3 separate regions of the Homo sapiens genome follow, and regions 1 and 3 are each linked to region 2. The links are contacts of gene promoters, found by promoter capture Hi-C in human tissues and cell types (Jung and others, 2019). All regions are on one chromosome and are shown on one strand. The core of a region is centred on a gene start or on the middle of the fragment in contact, and the rest is flanking DNA. Distances in the headings are between cores, read along the strand shown.

Region 1 (3,549 bases), core at 785-3,284, 43 kb before region 2:
TTGGTAGGGTAGGAGAAAGAGAAATAGAGGAGGAATAGTAGGAGTGGAGAGGAGGAGGAGAAGGGGCTGGGAAGGTGTGTGTGTGTTTGTGTGTGTGTGTGTGTGTGTGTGAGAGAGAGAGAGAGAGAGAGAGAGAGAGAGAGAGAGAGAGAGCGAGAAAGAGCTATCAGACCAGAAGGTGATGAATGAGGCTAGTGTCTTGACAAGGAATTCAGGCGAGGACTTTCCAGAAGGCAGGATTAAAGTAGTCTGATTGCATAGAGAGGTTAAAATAAGCAAAGATATTTTCTCTAGAGATGCATTACAGGAGAATTAAAGAGGAAACACTTTAGGCCCCAGTCTCTACTAAAAGAAGACAAAATTGGAAGCACTTTAGTGAAGCAGTGGGGTTGAATTTCACTTCTAAGGGACAGGGATCAGTGGGCACTAGGAAATTAGTGAGTCTGGACTATTTCTAAAGAAAGTAATCCATTCTGAAACGAAGTTCACAAGTGTAATAAAAAGTATACTGTTTTCATGAATCTTCATCTTTCAGGCTGAGTTTCAGTTTTTTCTTTGTCTTTAACCATGTCAGTGGGCTGATTACTCTGCTTCTCATTTGCTGTTCTTTCCTTATGAAAAGAACCCATTTGTAGCTCTTTCCATTTCTTAGCTGCATAGGAGCAGGATTCAGCAAGCTCCATCACTGATAATGGAAATGTAATCATGTCTCCAGTCAACACAGAGAATGACAACAAAGAGAAAGACTATCCTAGTGCATTTCAAACTCTCAGTTTAGCCCCTGTCTACTGGTGCCTAATTCAACACAAACACTGTAGTGTCACTTAAGGCCATGCTGTCCCTGATAACACCAGGATTTCATCTGACCTGCGTCCCACTTCAGGCTCATCTGCAGCCTAATTTGGTTCTGACGATGTTTAAGAAAATGAACTGACCTTTATAAATTCCTTCCCATCCCTGCCACAACCTTATGGGTTCCATATCCCTGAGCTGAGATCCTTTGGAGCTAAAGAGAAAGCTGCTTAATGAGAAGTAGTAAAAGTTCTTACCTGTTCTTTTTCTCCTTAGTTCATGAGGAGTGGCTTCTAGCACTTCTGTGTCTCTCACTGGATCCTTGGACTAATATTTTACTGTTCCAACGTTGTAGGGCTGGGATTTCTTCAGTGATGAAATATTTAAAGGTTAAGCATATTTGTAATGGATTTAGAGTAATATGAAACTGAAAGTACTTCATTCAAGTCCACTACCATAAATGAAATTACTGGAGTGTGCCAGTGGGAGGGTTTAATGATTGCTCAACCAGAAGCTTCAAAGTTTTTTGTTGGAAATCTTAGAGACCATTTGTTGTCTAACAAAATGCCCATTAGGTTTTGAATACAATGATACATGTCTCATGGATTGAGTCAGTTTGAGAATCCTAGAATGAGGAGGCATCATGTTAATTTTCAGCTATAATTTCCTAAAATAATAGACACACTCACAATGGAGCTGCCTATTCTTTTAGAGGTGCGGTAAATAAGGAAAGGGCATATTTAACACATTGTCTGACATAAAAAGTCAGACAGCTGGAAAAAAATAAGTAGGGAATTTTTCATTTAGATGGTGGGGATGAGGAAGCATCATTTCCTCACTTTTCAGTTCACTTGGTTTGCAGTCTATGGAATCCTTCTAGTAGATAGTCACAGATAAAATTAATTCACAATTTAGTATTATTACATGATGCAATAATTAATGTGTATATGCCTAGTGATTTCAAAGATTGTCTTGATATTAGCATCCAATGAACAGACTGAATTTCAGGTGTGGAATGTTTTGATAATAAGCTTATTTTCACACAAAGAGCTCTATGCAGCCGGCTGTAGAGTTCATAGCAAGAGGGATTCAGTGATTCAGCTGGGGTTACTGAGTCTCATATCAAATGGAAGCAAGACCTGCAAGCTAGAAAAACAATCAACCATCTGTACATGTGTGTATAGAGAGCAAATATACTGCATGCACAGCACTGTACTAGGTGCTGAGAAGTGTATGAAGATGAATTAAACACAGCCACTGCCCTTAACTGGACTTACTCTAGAGGGTAAGAATGACTTGCACTCAAAGCTTAAAAGCAAAGGCCTGGAGAGGAGTGGAAGAGTGGAGCACTGAACACTGAAATATGTAGCCCAAGATTGCACATTGGAAGACTTCAAACTTTTACCCATGAAGAATTTCCTTTCATGTCACTTATGTGAAGTGGGTTGAGTTTTAGTTTTATAAAAAATGACCTGACAGTAAAAACAGACACATAGACCAATGGAACAGAATAGAGAATTCAGAAATAAATTCACATATTTTAAGTTGCCTCATTTTTGACACAGAGACCAGTAATATACATTGGGGAATGTATGTTTACAATTGGTGCTGGGAAACGTGGATATTAATATGCCATATATCAATTCAGAATGGATTAAGTATTTAAATGTAAGACCCCAAACAATAAAACTACTGGAGGAAAACATAGGGAAAACACTTGCAGACATCTGTCCAGGCAACAATTTGATGGGTAAAACTTCAATAGCACACTCAACAAAAGCAAAAATAGACAAATGAGACTGTTAAATTAAAAGGCTTTTGTGCAGCAAAGGAAAAAAACCAACAGAATGGAGAGTCATCCTGCGTAATGGGATAATGTATTTGCAAGCTATTCAACTTACAAAGGACTAATGTTCAGAATATACAAGAGTCTCAACTCAAAAACAAACAAACAAATACTCTTATTAAAAAATGGGCAAAATATCTGAATAGACATTTCTCAAAAGAAGAGATACAACTGGCTAACAAGTATATAAAAAAATGCTTAACATGTCTTAGATCTGGCACGATGGCTGAATAGGAATAGCTCCGGTCTGCAGCTACCAGTGAGACCAATGCAGAAGGCAAGTGATTTCTGTGTTTCCAACTGAGGTACCCTGTTCATCTCATTGGGACTGGTTAGGCAGTGGGTGTAGTCTTCTGCATTTCCGACTGAGGTACCCTGTTCATCTCATTGAGACTGGTTAGGCAGTGGTGCAGCTCACAGAGAGCGAGCAGAAGCAGGGTGGGGCATTGACTCACCTGCGAAGTGCAAGGAGCCAGGGACCTCCCTCCCCCAGCCAAGGGGAGCCCTGAGGGACTGTGCTACCCACCCAGATACTACGCTTTTCCGTGTGGTTTTTGCAATCTGCAGACCAGGATATTCCCTCGTGCCTATACCACCAGGACCCTGGGGTTTCAAGCACAAAACTGGGCAGCTGTTTGAGAAGACACCGAGCTGGCTGCAGGAATTTTTTTTTTTCCCCTAGTGGTGGAATCCCAGCAAGACAGAATCATTCATTCTCATGGAAAGGGGGCTGAAGCCAGGGAGCCAAGTTGTCTTGCTCAGCGGGTCCCACTCCTACGGAGCCCAGCAAGCTAAGAAACACTGGCTTGAAATTCTCACTGCCAGCACAGCAGTCTGAAGTTGACCTGGGACAATTGAACCTGGTTGGGGGAGGGTCGTCCACCATTACTGAGGTTTGAGTAGGCGGTTTT
Region 2 (3,670 bases), core at 685-3,184:
TTATATTAAAATGGTTTTCTATGATACCTGTATTTCCTTATAATTAGAAAAATGTAAACATAATATTGTCTTCAAATGCCTCAAATACTCAGTTTAGAATTGATATGTCAGACACTCAAGATGCATCTAATGCCACCAAAAATACCAGCTCTATCATTCACTACTTATGTGGCCTTGACCAAGGAGGTCAAGCTAGCTGAGCCTGTTAATTATAGGGGTCTGTGAGTTAAATCATACATCCAACCTGGAGGGTGTTTTGATAATAAAACGAGACATTATAAGTTTATATCTTTGCATAGCATGCACCACACAATAGGATTTCAGTAAATGTTGAATTAAATGGAGGTTACTACAATAATTACAATAACAATTGGTCCATTAGATTATATATTTCAACAAAATATACAAACTATAAGTTACTAAGAAACAAAAACTACAAATAAATTTTTCACGGAAGCAAAACTGTAAAGTTCAAGCACGCTGTTGCTGTACAACCTGCTCTTGTCTGATTCTTCACTGAGGGGAGTAAGGAAAATGGAGATCAAACACGAGGTCCTGATTTCCACAGTGAAATGCATTGTAATGTGATGTGTAACGTGTTCATCACATTACAGTGACTGCAACTGTACAGTCCCTTCTTTAAAGTGAACAATAAAGGCAGCTCTAGGAAGATGTGGCTGCTCCTGCAAACAACTTTATATAAACCAGGTCTCTGGTTTCTTAGCTGTGTGGGAACCACAGACCTTTTAACTTCTACTAAATGAAATACAGCTGTTCAATCCTATTCAGGACTGGTTTTCACACTCTGATGTACATAAGAATCACCTGATCACTCTGATGATAGTTTCTTTTGCTGTGCAGAAGCTCTTTAATTAGATCCCATTCTCAGCAAACTAACACAGGAACAGAAAACCAAAAACTGCGTGTTCTAACTGGTAAGTGGGAGTTGAACAATGAGAACATGTGGACACGGGCGGCGGGGGGTTGGCGCTGGGGGTGGGGGTGGGAAACTCACACACTGGGGCCTGTCAGTGGGTGGAGGGCAAGGGGAGGGAGAGCATTAGGACAAATACCTAATGCATGCGGGGCTTAAAACCTAGATGACGGATTGATAGGTGCAGCAAACCACCATGGGACATGGTGGTTTTTAAAAAAATCTTTTTTATTTTAAACATAGTGTCTATTCTTCATCTTTTTTTTTTTTAAAGAATCAACTGAGAGGATTGTTCAAACCCAGATTCCCAGGCCTAAGTATCCATCTGTTTAGCAAGAGCTACAAGAGACTCTGATGTTCCTATGGGAAACTAACACCCCCCTCCTCCCCCACCCCCTCCCCACACACACATACACACACACACACACACACGCACACACAGAGTTTGGACTATATAATTATTTTTAAGTAATAAAGACCAGTGATGTGGGGCCTAAGTTTATTTCTACATAGAGATTTATAGAGCTCTTATTCTGAAGCTTTCCTAAGTGTGACCACTAGAAAGATAGACAAGAAACTCTCCCTTCCGGTATAATTGCCTGGAAGCTCCTTGTTCTCTGCATTCTGGGGCTTGCCGCAGGACCTGAGAGAGATAGCCAGGCAGGCGCCCACCAGGGCTCATTCCAGGCCACTCACTGCTGTCCTGAGTTGATGATCAGGGAACAGCACATCCAGGGGGACGCGGCGTGCCCGGCTGTCACTGGTTCAAGTGGAGAAGCTGAGCTTCCCCAGAACTAAAGCCAGCCACAGACTCCTGCAGGCCAGGCAGCAGGCACCCTGCCCTTCCTGCCCATTCCTCAGTTACCACTCTGAATCAGAAACCAAGTCTTGAGTTAGGAACTAAGTTGCATTTAAAAGAAAGTGAACATACCTGCTCTATAGCACCGCAGGTCCAAGAACAGTTTTCAGTTGCCTCACTCACCTCTTGTTTTCTTTCCTCCTTTTACTTTTCTGTTCTTTCCTTTATAAAAGGAAAAAAAAGCTGAGTAAGCTAGTTGTTTCCACAAATGGGATGGTGCAGTAAAAATAAACTTGGAAGTAAAATTAATCCATGCTTTTAATAAAGTGTTAGCAGAGCCATGCCTGAATCATCCGATGTGAGTTTGAGGATGGGTGTTGGGTGCAGGGGTGGGAGGAGGTCAGAAAAAGCCACAGATACTGCACAGTCACACCTTAGCAAGCACAATCCTGCCAGCTTTCTTTTGTCTTTCCCATCTTAGAAGGCTTCACAGGCTTTCTTCTTGATACCGTTCCCAGGTGGCTTTAGTTTCCTAGGCACACAAGAAAAACAGGAAATCTACAGTAGTCACATAAGCAAAGCCTTAGAAACCAAGAATATTTTAAGCATTTTTCTCTTAGTGGGAATTCTTGAGTTCTGGGGTCTTTTGTTAGTGAAGAACTTTTGATATTTTAAATGTGTTCACACATGCACACACACACACAGAAGAGAGAGAGAGAAAGAGAGAGAGCTAAAGATATTACTGGTTTAAAAAAAGAATGAACCATGTCTTTTACAGCAACATGGATGGAACTGGAGTTCATTATCTTAGGTGAAACAACTCAGAAACCGAAAGTCAAATACCACATTCTTACTCATAAGTGGAAGCTAAAAAATCTGCATACATGGACATAGAAGGTGGAATGTGCAGTGCATAACAGTGTACAAGCTCCTATGAGAATCTAATGCTGCTGCTGATCTGACAGGAGGCAGGTCTCAGGCCTTAGTGCTCTCTCCCTACTCACCTCCTGTGTGGCCCAGTTTCTAACAGACCATGCTCTGGGGGTTTGGGACCCTTGATGTGGACTATTTATCCAACAACCCACAGTTTCCATTGGTTGAGTCTTATCCCCAGGGACTTTAACTATTTTGAATTCACAAGCTGCCCTTGGGCAAAATAGACACCCTTTCACAGCTTGGAGAAACATCTGAGTGAGAAAAGGAGAAAGACTCTCTACAGAGGACATAGCAGCATGCTGGGACTGTCTACCATGGCTGCACTGCTAAATGGATTTGAGAACAGAAGCAAGTGGCAGAATGAGCAGACATGAGTTTTGGCAATAACTTAGGCTGAGGATTTGGGGAGTGTGGTAGACTAATCTGAATACTCTATTCAGACAAAGACTTGTGTTAAAAATGTAAAATTCTGGGCCAGGTGCGGTGGCTCACTCCTGTAATCCCAGCACTTTGGGAGGCCGAGGCGGGCGGATCACGAGGTCAGGAGATCAAGACCATCCTGGCTAACAGGGGGAAACCCTGTCTCTCTCTACTAGAAATACAAAAAAATTAGCCGGGTGTGGTGGCGGGCACCTGTAGTCCCAGCTCCTCAGGAGACTGAGGCAGGAGAATGGTGTGAACCTGGGAGGCAGAGCTTGCAGTGAGCCGAGATTGTGCCACTGCACTCCAGCCTGGGCGACAGAGCGAGACTCCATCTCAAAAAAAAAGGAAAATTCTGGATTCAAAAATGTTTAATATTTTCAAAAGCAATATTAAAAATTGACTAATTTGTCATGAATGATCTTAAAGACCAAATTCCAAGGGAAGGTGAACGCCCAAAGAGTTAAGTGGAGTATTGAAGCTGTTTTTTTTCTAATAGCATTTGCCAACCAAGGGAATGTGACCTTCAGTTTGGAAGGCATTTATGAAGAGGCCAAAAGTCAAAGACCAGAGCTTGTCTA
Region 3 (3,293 bases), core at 495-2,994, 44 kb after region 2:
GGTAAAGAGAGGCTGAGTTAGAAATCTTATTCATAGGGATAAAAATAGACATTACCAAACCTAGGGAAAGATAACAATATTCAAGAACAAGAAGATTATAGGAGACCAGGCAGATTTAACACAAATAAGACTACCTCAATATGTTTAATAATCAAACTCCCAAAGGTCAAGGATAAATAAGGCATACTAAAAGCAAAAAGAGAAAAGAAAAAAAAAAACATATAAAGGAGCTTCAATATGTCTAGCACATATTACTCAGTGGAAAGCTTACTAGCCAGGAGTAAGTGGTATAATATATTTAAACTGCTAAAAAAAAATCTTTTATCCTAGAATATCATACCAGTGAAAATATCCTTCAAACATAGAGGAAAAGTAAAGACTTTTCCAGCAAACAAAAGCTGAGGTAGTTCATCAACATAAGACCTGTCCTAAAAGAAATGCTAAAGAGAGTACTTCAATCTGAAAGGAAAGCATGTTAATGAGCAAAAAAAAAATCATCTGAGTACATAAAATTCACTGGTAACAGTGAGTATACCGACAAATATAAAATAATATGACACTGTAATTGTGGTATGTAAACTACTCATACCTTGCATAGGAAGAGTAAAAGACAAATTTATCGAAAATAATAACCACAACAACTTTTTAAGACATAGTATAATAAGATATAAATAGAAACAACGAATAGTTGAAAAGCAGAGAGGATGAAGTTAAAGTGTTGAATGTTATTAGTTTTCTCTTTGCTTGTCAGTTTTTTTTTGTAGATTTTAGCAATTAGAGTTTAACTGTCATCAGTGTAAAATAATGAGTTACAAGATATTAGTTGCAAGCCTTGTGGTAACCACAAATCAAAAAACCTACAACAGATACACAAAAAATGTATAGAGCAAGAACTTAAAACATACCAACAAGAAAATCACTTTCACAAAAAGAAAGACATGAAGGAAGAAGAGAAGAAAGAGAAGACCACAAACAACCAGAAAACAAAACCAAATGGCAGGAGTAAGTTGTTATTTAGCAACAATAACATTGAATGCAAATGGACTATACTCTCCAATCAAAAGACACAGAGAGGCCGAATGGATTAAAAAAACAGAATCCAGTGATCTGTTGCCTACAAGAAACACACTTCACCTATAAAGACACACACAAACTGAAAATAAGAAGAAGGAAAAAGACATTCCATGCCAATGGAAACCAAAAAAAGAGCAGGAGTAGCTATACTTATATCAGATAAAAGCATTTCAAGATAAAAACTATAAAAAAGACAAAGAATGTCACTATGTAACGAGTAAAAGGGATTAATATAGCAAGAGGATATAACCATTGTAAATATATATGCACCCAATACTGGAGCATCTAGATATATAAAGCAAATATTATTAGTTCAAAAGAGAGAGACAGACCACAGTATAATAACAGCTGGAGATTTCAACACCTCACCTTCAGCATTGGACAGATCAGCCAAACAAAAATTACAAAGAAAATATCAGACCTAATCTATACTATAGACCAAAAGACCTAATAGATATTTACAGATTATTTCATCCAAGGGTTGAAAAATACACGTTCTTCTGCTCAGGAAATAGATCATCCTCAAGTATAGACTATACTTTAAGCCACAAAATCAGTCTGAAAAATACAAAAAAGGTAAATATGATACTTGACACATATCAAGTATCTTCTCTGACCACAATGGAATAAAACTAGAAATCAAGCATATGAGAAAACTTAAAAGGAACACAAACATTTGGAAATTAATCAATTTGCTCCTGAATGACCAGTGGGTCAAAAAACAAGAATCAAATTTAAGAATTCCTGAAACAAATGCAAATGGAAAGAAAACATACCAAAACTTATGGGATAAGCAAAAGTGGTACTAAGAGGAAAGTTTATAGCAATAAGCACCTACAACAAAGAGGGAGCAATACTTCAAATAATCTAATGATGCATCTTAAGGAACTAGAAAAGCAAGAGCAAACCAAACCTAACATTAGTAGAAGAAAAGACATAATAATGATCTGAGCAGGAAAAAAAAAGAAATTGAAATGAGAAAAGCAATACTAAATGTCATCAAAAAGAAAAGTTGGTTTTTTGAAAAGATAATGAAAATTGGCAAACTTTTAGCCAGACTAACTGATAAAGACAGAAGACCCAAATAAATAAAATCAGAGATGAAAAAGGAGACATTACAACTTATACTGCAGAAATGTAAAGAATCACTGGACTACTATGAACAACTGTATGTCCACAAATTGGAAAACCTAAAAGAAGTGGATAAATTCCTAGACATACACAACCTACCAAGATTGAACCATTAAGAAATCTGAAGCCTAAATAGAGCAATAAAAAGTAATGACATCAAAGCCATAATAAAAAGTCTCCCAGCAAAGAAAAGCCCAGGACCCAATGGTCTCAATGCTGAACTCTACCAGACATTTAAAAAAGAATACCAATCCAACTCAAACTATTCCCCCAAAAAAGAAGGAGAGGGAATACTATGAAACTTATTCTACAAGGCCGGTATTACCCTGATGCCAAAAGCAAAGAAACATCAAAAAAAGAAAACAACAGGCTAATATCTCTGGTTAATATTGATACAAATATCCTCAACAAAATACCAGCAAAGCAAATTCAACATCAAATTTGAAAGATCATTCATCATGACTGTCATTGCAACCCCTGCTTTTTTTTTCTTTTATTTCCATTTGCTTGGTAAATATTCCTTCATTCCTTTATTTTGAGCCTATGTGTGACTGCACATGAGATGGGTCTTCTGAATACAGCACACCAATGGATCTTGACTTTTTATTCAATTTGTCAGTCTGTGTCTTTTAATTGGGTCATTTGGCCCATTTACATTTAAGGTTAACATTGTTATGTGTGAATTTGATCCTGTCATCATGATGCTAGCTAGTTATTTTGCACATTTGTTGATGCAGTTTCTTCCTAGTGTCATTGGTCTTTATATTTTGGTCTGTTTTTGGTGTGGCTGGTATCAGTTTTTCCTTTCCATATTTAGTGCTTCCTTCAGGAGCTCTTGTAAGGCAGGCCTGGTGGTGACAAAATCCCTCAGCATTTGCTTGTCTGTAAAGAATTTTATTTCTCCTTTGCTTATGAAGCTTAGTTTGGCTGGATATGAAATTCTGGGTTGAAAATTCTTCTATTTAAGAATGTTGAATATTGACCCCCACTGTCTTCGGGCTTGTAGGGTTTCTGCAGAGAGATCTGCTATTAGTCTGATGAGCTTCCTTTTGTAGGTAACCTGACCTTTCTCTCTAGCAGCCCTCAAC

The links. The method cuts DNA at HindIII sites, captures the fragments that hold promoters and counts their contacts. A contact is called where the count stands out against the background at its distance.
Region 1: a fragment that was not itself captured here is called in contact with the fragment with the promoter of GBP6 in region 2 in 1 of the 25 tissues and cell types used here (dorsolateral prefrontal cortex).
Region 3: a fragment that was not itself captured here is called in contact with the fragment with the promoter of GBP6 in region 2 in 4 of the 25 tissues and cell types used here (H1 embryonic stem cells, hippocampus, liver and 1 more).

The regions. Positions count from the first base shown.
Region 1 is chr1:89,405,259-89,408,807 of GRCh38, reverse strand. It overlaps the pseudogene GBP1P1. Among named protein-coding and RNA genes, the nearest start is that of GBP6, 43 kb to the right of the region's middle. The HindIII fragment of the contact is 3,111 bases long and covers 479-3,549 here.
Region 2 is chr1:89,362,323-89,365,992 of GRCh38, reverse strand. GBP6 (guanylate binding protein family member 6) reads right to left here and starts at 1,934. Exons shown (of 11, transcript NM_198460.3): 1 at 1,866-1,934. The HindIII fragment of the contact is 7,719 bases long and covers 1-3,670 here.
Region 3 is chr1:89,318,338-89,321,630 of GRCh38, reverse strand. No RefSeq gene overlaps it. Among named protein-coding and RNA genes, the nearest start is that of GBP6, 44 kb to the left of the region's middle. The HindIII fragment of the contact is 5,448 bases long and covers 1-3,293 here.